2 separate regions of the Homo sapiens genome follow, and region 1 is linked to region 2. The links are contacts of gene promoters, found by promoter capture Hi-C in human tissues and cell types (Jung and others, 2019). All regions are on one chromosome and are shown on one strand. Each heading gives the region's core, a stretch centred on a gene start or on the middle of the fragment in contact. The rest is flanking DNA. Distances are from core to core; before and after follow the strand shown. Region 1 has its middle 46 kb from the start of RPE65. Region 2 holds the start of RPE65 (retinoid isomerohydrolase RPE65).

Region 1 (5,821 bases), core at 2,736-5,235, 47 kb after region 2:
GGTTTGGGAATGGAGAATCAAAAAATCAGAGCGGGCTTCTTGGGAAAAGGAGGAGAAACAAACGGGGTCATAAGTTATGTTAAGTTCCCCCTGTTTCCTGCAATCAAAAGGGAAGGTCTGTGTATCTGCAAGAACAGAAGCCACGAGGAAACACCATCCTCAGCATATGACCAGCATTAAAAATTCACTGTGCATCCATAGAACACAAGGTCCCCCATGTAACTCTTTGGAAGCCATAAGGGAAATAAAAGCTCTTCAACATGTTCAGGCCATTCACCATTTGAAAAGAGCTTTTGATTCTCAAAAAAAATGCTATGAAGTATGCAAGGCAAGTATTCTTTGTTCTTTCAAGTATTTCACTCAGCTAGTATTTATTGAACAACCACTGTGTACCAAGTACTGTCTAGACCAGTAGAACTTTCGGTGATGATGGAAACGTTCTATTTTGTGCTGTCTAGTGCCATAAATGAGAGCCACATGGTTACTGTGCACTTTAAATGTGGCTAGTGTGACTGAGGAACTGAAGTTTTTTGTTTGATTGATTGTTTGTTTGTTTGTTTGTTTGTTTGAAACAAAATCTTGCCCCTGTCACTCAGGCTGGAGTGCAGTGGTACAATCATAGCTCACTGCAGTCTCAACCTCCTGGCTGAAGCAATCCTCCGCCTCAGCCTCCTGAGGAGCTGGGACCACAGATGAGCGCTAACATGTCCGACTAATTTGTTTTTTCCATTTTTTGTAGAGATGGGGTCTCCCTGTGTTACCCAGGCTGGTCTCAAACTCCTGGGCTCAAGTGATCCTCCCACCCAGCCTCCCACAGTGCTGGGATTATAAGCATGAGCCCCAGAGCCCAGCTAGAAGTTTTAATTTGTATTTTCATAAACAAGGAAAGCCAGTCTCAACAAGCGTATTACTGCTGTCACCAAGATGTTCCTTCCCCACCCACACTCTTCCTTCTCAAGGATAAAGGCCCAGCGCTAAAGCTGCTCTCTTTGCTTGGGCCTTGCCCCTGACTCTCGTAAGTGCCCATGTGGATGGCCAGCCTGCTCTATCTGAGAAGACACCCCCCACAGACCTCCAGGATGGGCTTGGCCACAGCCCCAGGTGCATGCCTTAGTTTCCTTATTCTGGTCACCTGGATTGTCTCATCACCTACTGAGCTCAATATTTCTAAGGTGTTGCTGCCTCTGCTCTGGAGAAGTTTATAATATGTATAAACAGGTAAGATATATCTCCAGGAGCCAGCAAAAAAGATTTTCCTGAAAAATGCATCCTAGGATGCAGAGAAAAAGAAAGACACTAAGCTAAGCAAGGATTATGTGATGGGGATGTTAAAGATGAGTGAAGTAAAAAGAAAAGGATTTCTCATTCATGTCTGTGCTATTCATTTTAAGGGTACAGAACAGATAGCAATAATATCAATATTGACAGCTAACATATATTGAACACTTACTATCTGCCAGGGTTCAGTTTAAGTATTCACATGTGTTATAGCATTTCATCCTTCCCAATCCCTATTTTACTGATAAGAAAGCTGAGGTACAAAGAGGTTATGTGACTTGCCCAAAATCTCACTTCTTATTAGGATTATAGTTAGGATTTGGACCAAGGCTATCTGGTTCCAGAGTTTCCACTGTTCACCACCAGCTCTGCTGCTCCTCAGTATTAAGCTGCTGCTATCACTCTACTACTAATCCTACTTCTAATCTCTTCCGAATTATTCTCCTTCTCTTCCTGCTTCTCCTTTCCTCTCCTCTTCCTCTCTCCTTCCTTTTACTCATTCCCGTATTGCTGCTGCTGCTGCTGCCGCTGCTACTACTACTACTATCACTACTACTATTACTAGTACATCATACTGGTTAAGAGCACAGTTTCTGAAACCAGATTGTTGAGGTTTAAAATTTAGCTTCACCATTCACAGTTAATGACTTGGCAAGTTTCTTAACTATTCTGTGACTTAGTCTCACCCATAAAACAAGGGTGATTACAGTACCTATTTCATAGAATTATTCTGATGATCAAATAAAGTAATATATGTCAAGCAATTAGAATAGGTCCTGGCACATAGTGAAAGCTCAAAATAGGGTATTTTATTACCATTTCAGCTTAGTTGGAACAATTCACATAGTTATTGGAAGGTTTGTTTGTAGTTTACTATAATTACATCTGTTTAAATTATTTCCTAGAACACCTGGTCAAGGAACACCATTCATTCTTGGTCCAACAGGCTTTTGGTGTCATTCTAAAATAATGAAAATAATGAAACATATAGACAATAATACTGAATTTATTAAGCCAGTTGTTCTCACATCTCTCCAGAAATTAAAAATTCATGACTGTGCCCAGCACATTTAAACACAACCAGTGGATATTCATTAACTATCTGTGATGATGATACATGATACAGGATAATTTGCCTCTTAATTATCTTGAAAGATTTTAACTCAAGCACTAAAACATGAGCTTTCCCTGGAGAAAATGAATTTGCCTGACATAAGCAAAGTGAAAGTATGTTAAAACAACTGGAATAGCATTCATTTTTACTTTGAGCTGTGGAAGGTTTCAGTGCTGAAACAAGTTTCCCACTGCAGAACCCTCTCTGTCCCTGGGAATGGAACAAATACTCACATCATATCATTCTCTCTGATGGAATTTAACTTGAAGTTTTACTTCACCCATAAAGGTGCTTAGTTCTCTCATGTTATTGTCAGAAGTGAAGGCTAGAGAGCAGATCTAAGTTATAAGTGAAAAGATTCGCCTTGGTAGAGAGGCTCTTGTAGCTTAGCTTTACAAGAAAGATGTGTTCATGCAAAATAAACCCCTCCAGATGAGCCAAACCCTTTACAAGCATTGTTTCACATTCTGCTTTGAACTCTTGGACTCAACTTCCCATCTGTCAACTGGCTCAAAATCTACAAAAGGCATGCGACATATGCATGCCGACTCAACTGATTAAAATGTCCTCATGATGCACTTTGCAGAAACTTATCAGTTAGAGTTTTAAATTTGCATTTGAGTTTATTTAATTAATATCTGTCTCTTCCACTTCCATGTAAGTTCATCTGGCACATAGGAGGTACTCAATGATTATTTGCTGAATAAATGAGTGACCGAATGAACAAACGGTTTAAAAACTGATTATATCCAGACATTAATTTATTTGTTTACTCAACAAATATGTATGTGTCAGTCATTCCAAGGAATACAAATCCTGGTAAAGCATTAAAATAATGGCCAGACCCTTTTCTTTTTGGTGTTGTCAAATAATAGCAATTTCTGCTACAAGTTTTGGCACCTGCGTAACAGCCGATAATAATAGCTATCATTTTTTAACATGAGCCAGACAATTTACATGAATATCTGGCTAAATTTGTATAATAATATTATGAAAAAAGATGTTATGAATGTACTCATTTTAGATAAAGAAACCGAGACATACACAGTAAATAACTTACTCAAAATCACATTTTTAGAAGTGATCAAAAGGGAACTCAAAATCAGGATCATCAAATTCCAAAGGCTATTTTGTGACTACCACTGTTACTCTGTTTTATAAGAGCTCACTCTTGACACTTTTTTGAAAACTTCCTTCATTGAAATATACTTTTCCTAATTCCATAGGATCCTGGGATTGGGCACTCACACATTCTCAGACATTTCTAGCATTTTCCTTTGCTCGGGTATTTAAAACATACTAACAGAGTTTGAAGGGAAAAAAATCAGATTTCAACAGGAGTCATCAAGCCCCATTAAATTGGCATCAGCCTGAAAAAGCATCACACTTAGAATATAACTCATTAGTCTCTAGTTGATCAATCATGTTTAAAATTTATTTATATCACATCTTTATAAAAGAGATAAGTATTCTTTATCACTAAGCTTTAATTTTTGTTGTCACATTTTATAATTTAGGTAAATATTTTGCATAAGTGTACCAAAATTTTTAGTAGGAATGATTAGTTATTTGTCCAGGCAATCCATTTAGAAGCAAATGGATTTTTTTTGTTTACCCCTTTAACATCTAGAAGAGACTCAAATCCTTGAGGGGCCAGTTCATTTAGCTCTTCTAGGCTGTATAAAGGGTCATCATATTTCACAGGCTCTTCAGGTAGAAATCTATAATTTATTATGAGAAAAATATTTCTAACCTGGTTGTAAGCTTTTTTTCCAGAATATGCAAGATAGTCAACACCACCACTGACTCTAAATGGAAACAAATTAGGGTATAAACATGAAAATTTTCCATTCAAAATATAAAATTATAGATAAAAATTTAAGCCCAGATGATAGAAAATAATTATGTTCTCACAAGCCCAGTGCACATTTTGTCTATATTTTCTATCAAGAAATAATCTTACCTGACCTTGGCATTAGAAAGGGTTATATTTCTCTTAGGCAACTGGAACATTTTAATCTCATATGATTTGTAAAATTGATTGGAATTCATTTTGCTGATAGCTATTAGAAAGGTTAGAATCAGATTTGTGTCCCACTGATTGGACACCTGTAAGATGTTGTGGTACCTATCTTTTACAGTCTCATCCCTGATTCTATTTTATGTCTCTACTCTAACTCTGCTATCTTGTTTTTTATGTACATTTAATTTTAATTACTTTTTTGTAGTTCAGGTAACTTAATAAGCTGCTTTGAAATCCTTAAAATAGTAACTTATTTCTTCATTTTCCATTCCTATTTTTTATAACATTATTACACTGGCTTGGACCACCAGTATAAGGCTGAAGTGATGACAGTGAGCATACTTGATTTGTTCATAACCTCAGATGAATGGCTTTCAGCAGGTTTTGTTTGCTTGTTTTTTCTCTTCGTTAATACTTTTTACTGAACTAGGGATGTTCTTTTCTATTTCAGATTTTCTAACAGTTTTTATTATGAATGGATATTGATTGTTATCAAATGATTTTTGTGTCTAAGGAGATATGAGTTTTCTAGAGTCTGTTGATGTGATGAATTCCATTAATTTTCCACTGAAAGACCAAATTTGCATTACTAGAAATAAACCAGGTTGATTTTGTTCTATTATTCTTTTTAGAAAATTCCTGGATTTGGTGTGCCAATATTTTATATAAGATTTGTTATCTAGGTATGTGAAAAAAAGATTGACCTGAGATTCCCCCCCTTTTTTTTTGAAGCTCCTGTCAGATTTCATTATCAAGGTTATGTAGATCTCACAAAAAAACTAGGAAGCACTCTCTATTTTTCTATTTTCTAGAAAAGCTCATGTAAGATGCATTACTTTTTCCTTTATATATAGTCATGTGCTGCATAACAACGTTTCAGTCAGCATACACGATGGTGGCCTCATAAGATTATATCGTATTTTACTGTCCCTTTTCTATGTATACATATGTTTACATACACAAATACTTGCCATTGTGTGACAATCGCCTACAGTAGGTCACTACAGAAACTTGCTATACAGGTTTGTAGACTACAGCCTACATGTATAGTAGGCTATACCATCCAGGTTTGTGTAAGTACACTCTATGACATTCACACCATGATAAAATCACCCAATACATTTCTCAGAATCTATCCTCAATATTAAGTGATGCATGACTGTATTTTAAAAAACTCATTGGTAATGCTGGCTGCACTTAAAGTTTTCTATATGGAAAATGTTTAATTATACATTAAGTTTCTTTAGAAGTTATAACATTTCTCTGATTTTGTATTTTTTCTTCTGTCACTTTTGGCAAGATTTTATTTTCCTAGAAATTTGTCTATTATATTTAAATTTTTAAATTTGTTGACAAAAATTTGTTCACAATATATTTTTATGGTCTTTTTAATGTCTCCATTTTCA
Region 2 (5,222 bases), core at 2,723-5,222:
GGAAGGAATAAAAGGAGATGATGAAAAGAGAAGTAACAATACATTGGGGATCCGGTGTATCACACTGAAACCACAGAAAGATAAAGTTAGACCTAGAAAAGAGGTCTACATTTGAGGATATAGGAGCAAAGAGGTCAAAATCATGCTTTGAAAGGATGTGGACATCTGATCTTTAACTTCACACCAATGGCAGAATAAGAAAAAAATGGGTTACTTCTGAGGTAGGAAGTAGTAGCTAGAAGATTAGACACTCTCAAACTTCCTGAGAATTGACATTAATAAGCATTACTTAATATTCATATGGAATACTTCTGGCTAAAGAATGCTTTTGCATATTTTCCCTGTCTTATACCTGAGGAGCTCAGGGTTCAATGAAATTTAATACACAGAAATTAGTTTTCATCCTGAATTTCTCCAAGCGTACTAATTTGATGATTCATATGGCCTACGGGTTTGTGAGCATTCCTAGAATGAATTGCCATGATTTGTACTTTTAAAAGAAATATCCTTCAAGAAGCTGACTTCTAGGATCTATACGTTGAAGCATAAAGGATACCACAGACGCAAAACAATGCAAAAAGTGCTAAAACCAGTTGCTGTTCTTAAACAATGTGGTTATAGCCCCAGAACACCAAAGGCAGCACAGGGATATCTAAGAAAGGCACTTGGTGCAGACACGGGCACCAGCAAGACCGGATTCTCATCTCCCAGGAGGTGAACTTAAATGCAGTTTGTTAATGCTCTCTCTCTCAACTAGTATACGCTTTCTTTCCGACAAAGACTTCTCTTTCAGCCTCTTGTAATGGGAGGGGAGAGGTGAAAATTTTAAAAAGCTGCTGGGTCTTGATATTAGTGGAATTTCTCTCCAATGAACTGACAGTGTACAGGTATGACAACATGGCCTGTAGCTCTTCTCGAAGAGAAGAGACTGCTGAGAAAATAAAATCCAACAAAAATGCTGCAGGAGAAAGTCTTTCTAACATGCTCATTCCTCTGCCTTCTCTCACTCTGCATCTTTCCCTAAGAATGCCACCTCCATCTTTTTTCTATGTCAACACTGAGCTTATCCTTCAGATGCTAACTCATTCAGCCTCCCTATTAGGCTCTCAAATGATTACAGGCCCCGGGGATCTTCTCCTTTAATAAATAAGTTCAAATCACAATCAGAATTCATTTTCTCTGTATCCCTGAAACATCACACACACACACACACACACACACACACACACGGTGTGCATTATCTGAATGAATTGTACCAGAAACCAGAAACCCACCGGTAATCCTTTTTTATGCCTTTTATTTCCCCAACACATTTACCAGTCCCAGAGTTAGATTAGGCCTCCTCTGAAGTATCTCTTGAATTTCACTATTCGTATCCATCCCTCAGTGTACCTGCTTACAACAGCTATCTCCACTTGTTTGATCTGTGCCTCCCTTTAATTTGTCTTGCCCAAATCTCCTATTCCAGTATATTATCCACAATGCATTCTAAGTCGTCCTACTAAAATGCAAATCAGATCATGTCACTCCTCTGGATAAAATATTTCAGTGATTCCCCTTTTCTCATGACAAGGGTCTGGATTTCTGTAAATGGTTTATGATGTTCTTTTTTTTTTTTTTTTTTTTTTGAGATGGAGTCTCGCTCTGTCACCCAGGCTAAAGTGCAGTGGCACGATCTCAGCTCACTGCAAGTTCCGCCTCCTGGGTTCACGCCATTCTCCTGCCTCAGCCTCCCGAGTAGCTAGGGCTACGGGTGCCCACCACCACACCCGGATAATTTTTTGTATTTTTAGTAGAGACGGGGTTTCACCGTGTTAGCCAGGATGGTTTCGATCTCCTGACCTCGTGATCTGCCCACCTCGGCCTCCCAAAGGGCCGGGATTACAGGCGTGAGCCACTGTGCCTGGCCTAGTTTATGATGTTCTACACAATCTGGCCTATGATTATCTCTAGTCCAGTTTCATCTCTAGCTATTTTCCCACCTTATGTTAGCCTCTAGACTTTTATAAATAACACAAGCTGTGCCTGAACACTCTTCTACCTGCCCTTTGACTGGCTAACTTTTATATATTTATCCCATCTCAGCTTAGATACTTCCTTTTTCTCCTGGAGGTTCCTAATGCCAGTATCAATGTTCTTCCTGGGTGGTACCACAGCATCCTACGGTGACGAGGAGGAGGTGGCCTAGATCCTTCCTTTTCTTGGTAAAGGGTGGAAGCAGTGTGGATACTTTACTTGGTGTGTTCTGATATCCATGTGTCACTAGGCACTTGTTCTTTGTGTCTTCACATCTCCTCCTGTTGCATTTTAAAGCACTTTCATAGTATATGGTTTTGCCTAATAAAGCATTCTCATAGCAAAAAAAAAAGTATGGTATTGTGCAAATAAGTGCTCACTCCAAATTAGTGGTATATTTATTGAAGTTTAATATTGTGTTTGTGATACAGAAGTATTTGCTTTAATTCTAAATAAAAATTTTATGCTTTTATTGCTGGTTTAAGAAGATTTGGATTATCCTTGTACTTTGAGGAGAAGTTTCTTATTTGAAATATTTTGGAAACAGGTCTTTTAATGTGGAAAGATAGATATTAATCTCCTCTTCTATTACTCTCCAAGATCCAACAAAAGTGATTATACCCCCCAAAATATGATGGTAGTATCTTATACTACCATCATTTTATAGGCATAGGGCTCTTAGCTGCAAATAATGGAACTAACTCTAATAAAGCAGAACGCAAATATTGTAAATATTAGAGAGCTAACAATCTCTGGGATGGCTAAAGGATGGAGCTTGGAGGCTACCCAGCCAGTAACAATATTCCGGGCTCCACTGTTGAATGGAGACACTACAACTGCCTTGGATGGGCAGAGATATTATGGATGCTAAGCCCCAGGTGCTACCATTAGGACTTCTACCACTGTCCCTAACGGGTGGAGCCCATCACATGCCTATGCCCTCACTGTAAGGAAATGAAGCTACTGTTGTATATCTTGGGAAGCACTTGGATTAATTGTTATACAGTTTTGTTGAAGAAGACCCCTAGGGTAAGTAGCCATAACTGCACACTAAATTTAAAATTGTTAATGAGTTTCTCAAAAAAAATGTTAAGGTTGTTAGCTGGTATAGTATATATCTTGCCTGTTTTCCAAGGACTTCTTTGGGCAGTACCTTGTCTGTGCTGGCAAGCAACTGAGACTTAATGAAAGAGTATTGGAGATATGAATGAATTGATGCTGTATACTCTCAGAGTGCCAAACATATACCAATGGACAAGAAGGTGAGGCAGAGAGCAGACAGGCATTAGTGACAAGCAAAGATATGCAGAATTTCATTCTCAGCAAATCAAAAGTCCTCAACCTGGTTGGAAGAATATTGGCACTGAATGGTATCAATAAGGTTGCTAGAGAGGGTTAGAGGTGCACAATGTGCTTCCATAACATTTTATACTTCTCCAATCTTAGCACTAATCAAACATGGTTGAATACTTTGTTTACTATAACTCTTACAGAGTTATAAGATCTGTGAAGACAGGGACAGGGACAATACCCATCTCTGTCTGGTTCATAGGTGGTATGTAATAGATATTTTTAAAAATAAGTGAGTTAATGAATGAGGGTGAGAATGAAGGCACAGAGGTATTAGGGGGAGGTGGGCCCCAGAGAATGGTGCCAAGGTCCAGTGGGGTGACTGGGATCAGCTCAGGCCTGACGCTGGCCACTCCCACCTAGCTCCTTTCTTTCTAATCTGTTCTCATTCTCCTTGGGAAGGATTGAGGTCTCTGGAAAACAGCCAAACAACTGTTATGGGAACAGCAAGCCCAAATAAAGCCAAGCATCAGGGGGATCTGAGAGCTGAAAGCAACTTCTGTTCCCCCTCCCTCAGCTGAAGGGGTGGGGAAGGGCTCCCAAAGCCATAACTCCTTTTAAGGGATTTAGAAGGCATAAAAAGGCCCCTGGCTGAGAACTTCCTTCTTCATTCTGCAGTTGGTGCCAGAACTCTGGATCCTGAACTGGAAGAAAATGTCTATCCAGTAAGTATCTCTGGGAGACTTTTTTAAAACACCTTCATGGATTCATGATAAATGTGCTATTTCAAGGGCTCCTGAAGAGAAGGCATTGATTAATGACCTGTTTAGGAAAGACCCTTGAATTTTGGTGGGGAAATTTTTTCCTGCTTATGTATTAAAGCAACTAGCTAGAATTCAGGTCCAAATTATGGGGGGTTTGTGTGACTTAGCCCGGGGTTTGGAAGCAGTCTTGAGTATGGGGATTTCAGACAGACTTGGGCTCCACTCCTTGCCCAGTCATTTCCTAGTGTGTGACTTTGGACAAATTACCTAACTTTTTAAGTCTAGCTTTTCCTGTATATAGAAAGATGTCACAATAGCTTTTACTCCATTATGTTACTGTGAGATTTAAAAGAGATAATACCATGCAAAGTTCTTTTTATGGTATGTAGGACATAGTAATTGTTTAGTAAAAGGTAATTATTATAATTGAGTCTGGTCAGAGATTCCACTCTTTGAAGTTACAACATGAAACTGAACAGAGGATGTAGAAAGTAAACAAAAATATAGAACCTGAATCTCCTGGTCTGACTATGATGAAAAAGTACTGTAGGTCTTGGGGATTGGTAGAGAAATGAGATGATGGGGAAAAAATTATGGTATAATATGAGTGAATAATGAAAGATGAGGTACCTGACCCAAAAAGCTGTCATCTCTCAACCCCTAGGAAGGAGATAAATGGGTCTCTCCTTGAGGCAAGAAAATCAATGATGCTGTGAGCTGAGCATGTTGATAGGGTGGGAGAATACTGTGGGAAGGACCCTGTTTAGGAACAAATTTCAGGAAGTGAACTGATGGCAGTAGGATTGATTGATTTGTCTTCCGAAGTAAGGAAAAACTGCAGAGGACAGGATTAAGTTCACTGTAACCATTGACATTAAAAGAGAGGTCATGTCTCTTGACATCAGAGCAGTGATCTGGGACCCCCTTCCATACCTGAGTAGTCTTCCCCACCCCCAGCCTCACGTGCTCCTCCCGCCCTCACCTTCGCTTCTCCCCCCACCCCCACCCCCACCCAGCTGAGACTAGACCGGCAGGAGTGAACAGGCTTTGAGCCAGCCCTAGAGTGCCTTCTCTCCTGCAGCTCTGCCTCTATCTCTGCGGACTTTGAGCATCAACATGGGCTTCTTCCTTATTCTTCCACCATTTCAGGGT

The links. Contacts are between HindIII fragments. The study calls those that stand out against the background at their distance.
Region 1: a fragment that was not itself captured here is called in contact with the fragment with the promoter of RPE65 in region 2 in 2 of the 25 tissues and cell types used here (H1 embryonic stem cells and adrenal gland).

The regions. Positions count from the first base shown.
Region 1 is chr1:68,401,303-68,407,123 of GRCh38, reverse strand. No RefSeq gene overlaps it. Among named protein-coding and RNA genes, the nearest start is that of RPE65, 46 kb to the left of the region's middle. The HindIII fragment of the contact is 4,547 bases long and covers 1,712-5,821 here.
Region 2 is chr1:68,448,704-68,453,925 of GRCh38, reverse strand. It overlaps RPE65 (retinoid isomerohydrolase RPE65), which reads left to right and starts at 3,972. Exons shown (of 14, transcript NM_000329.3): 1 at 3,972-4,031; 2 at 5,220-5,222. The coding sequence starts at 4,021. LOC124904198 (a long non-coding RNA gene) reads right to left here. Exons shown (of 2, transcript XR_007066164.1): 2 at 2,403-5,222. The HindIII fragment of the contact is 15,503 bases long and covers 1-5,222 here.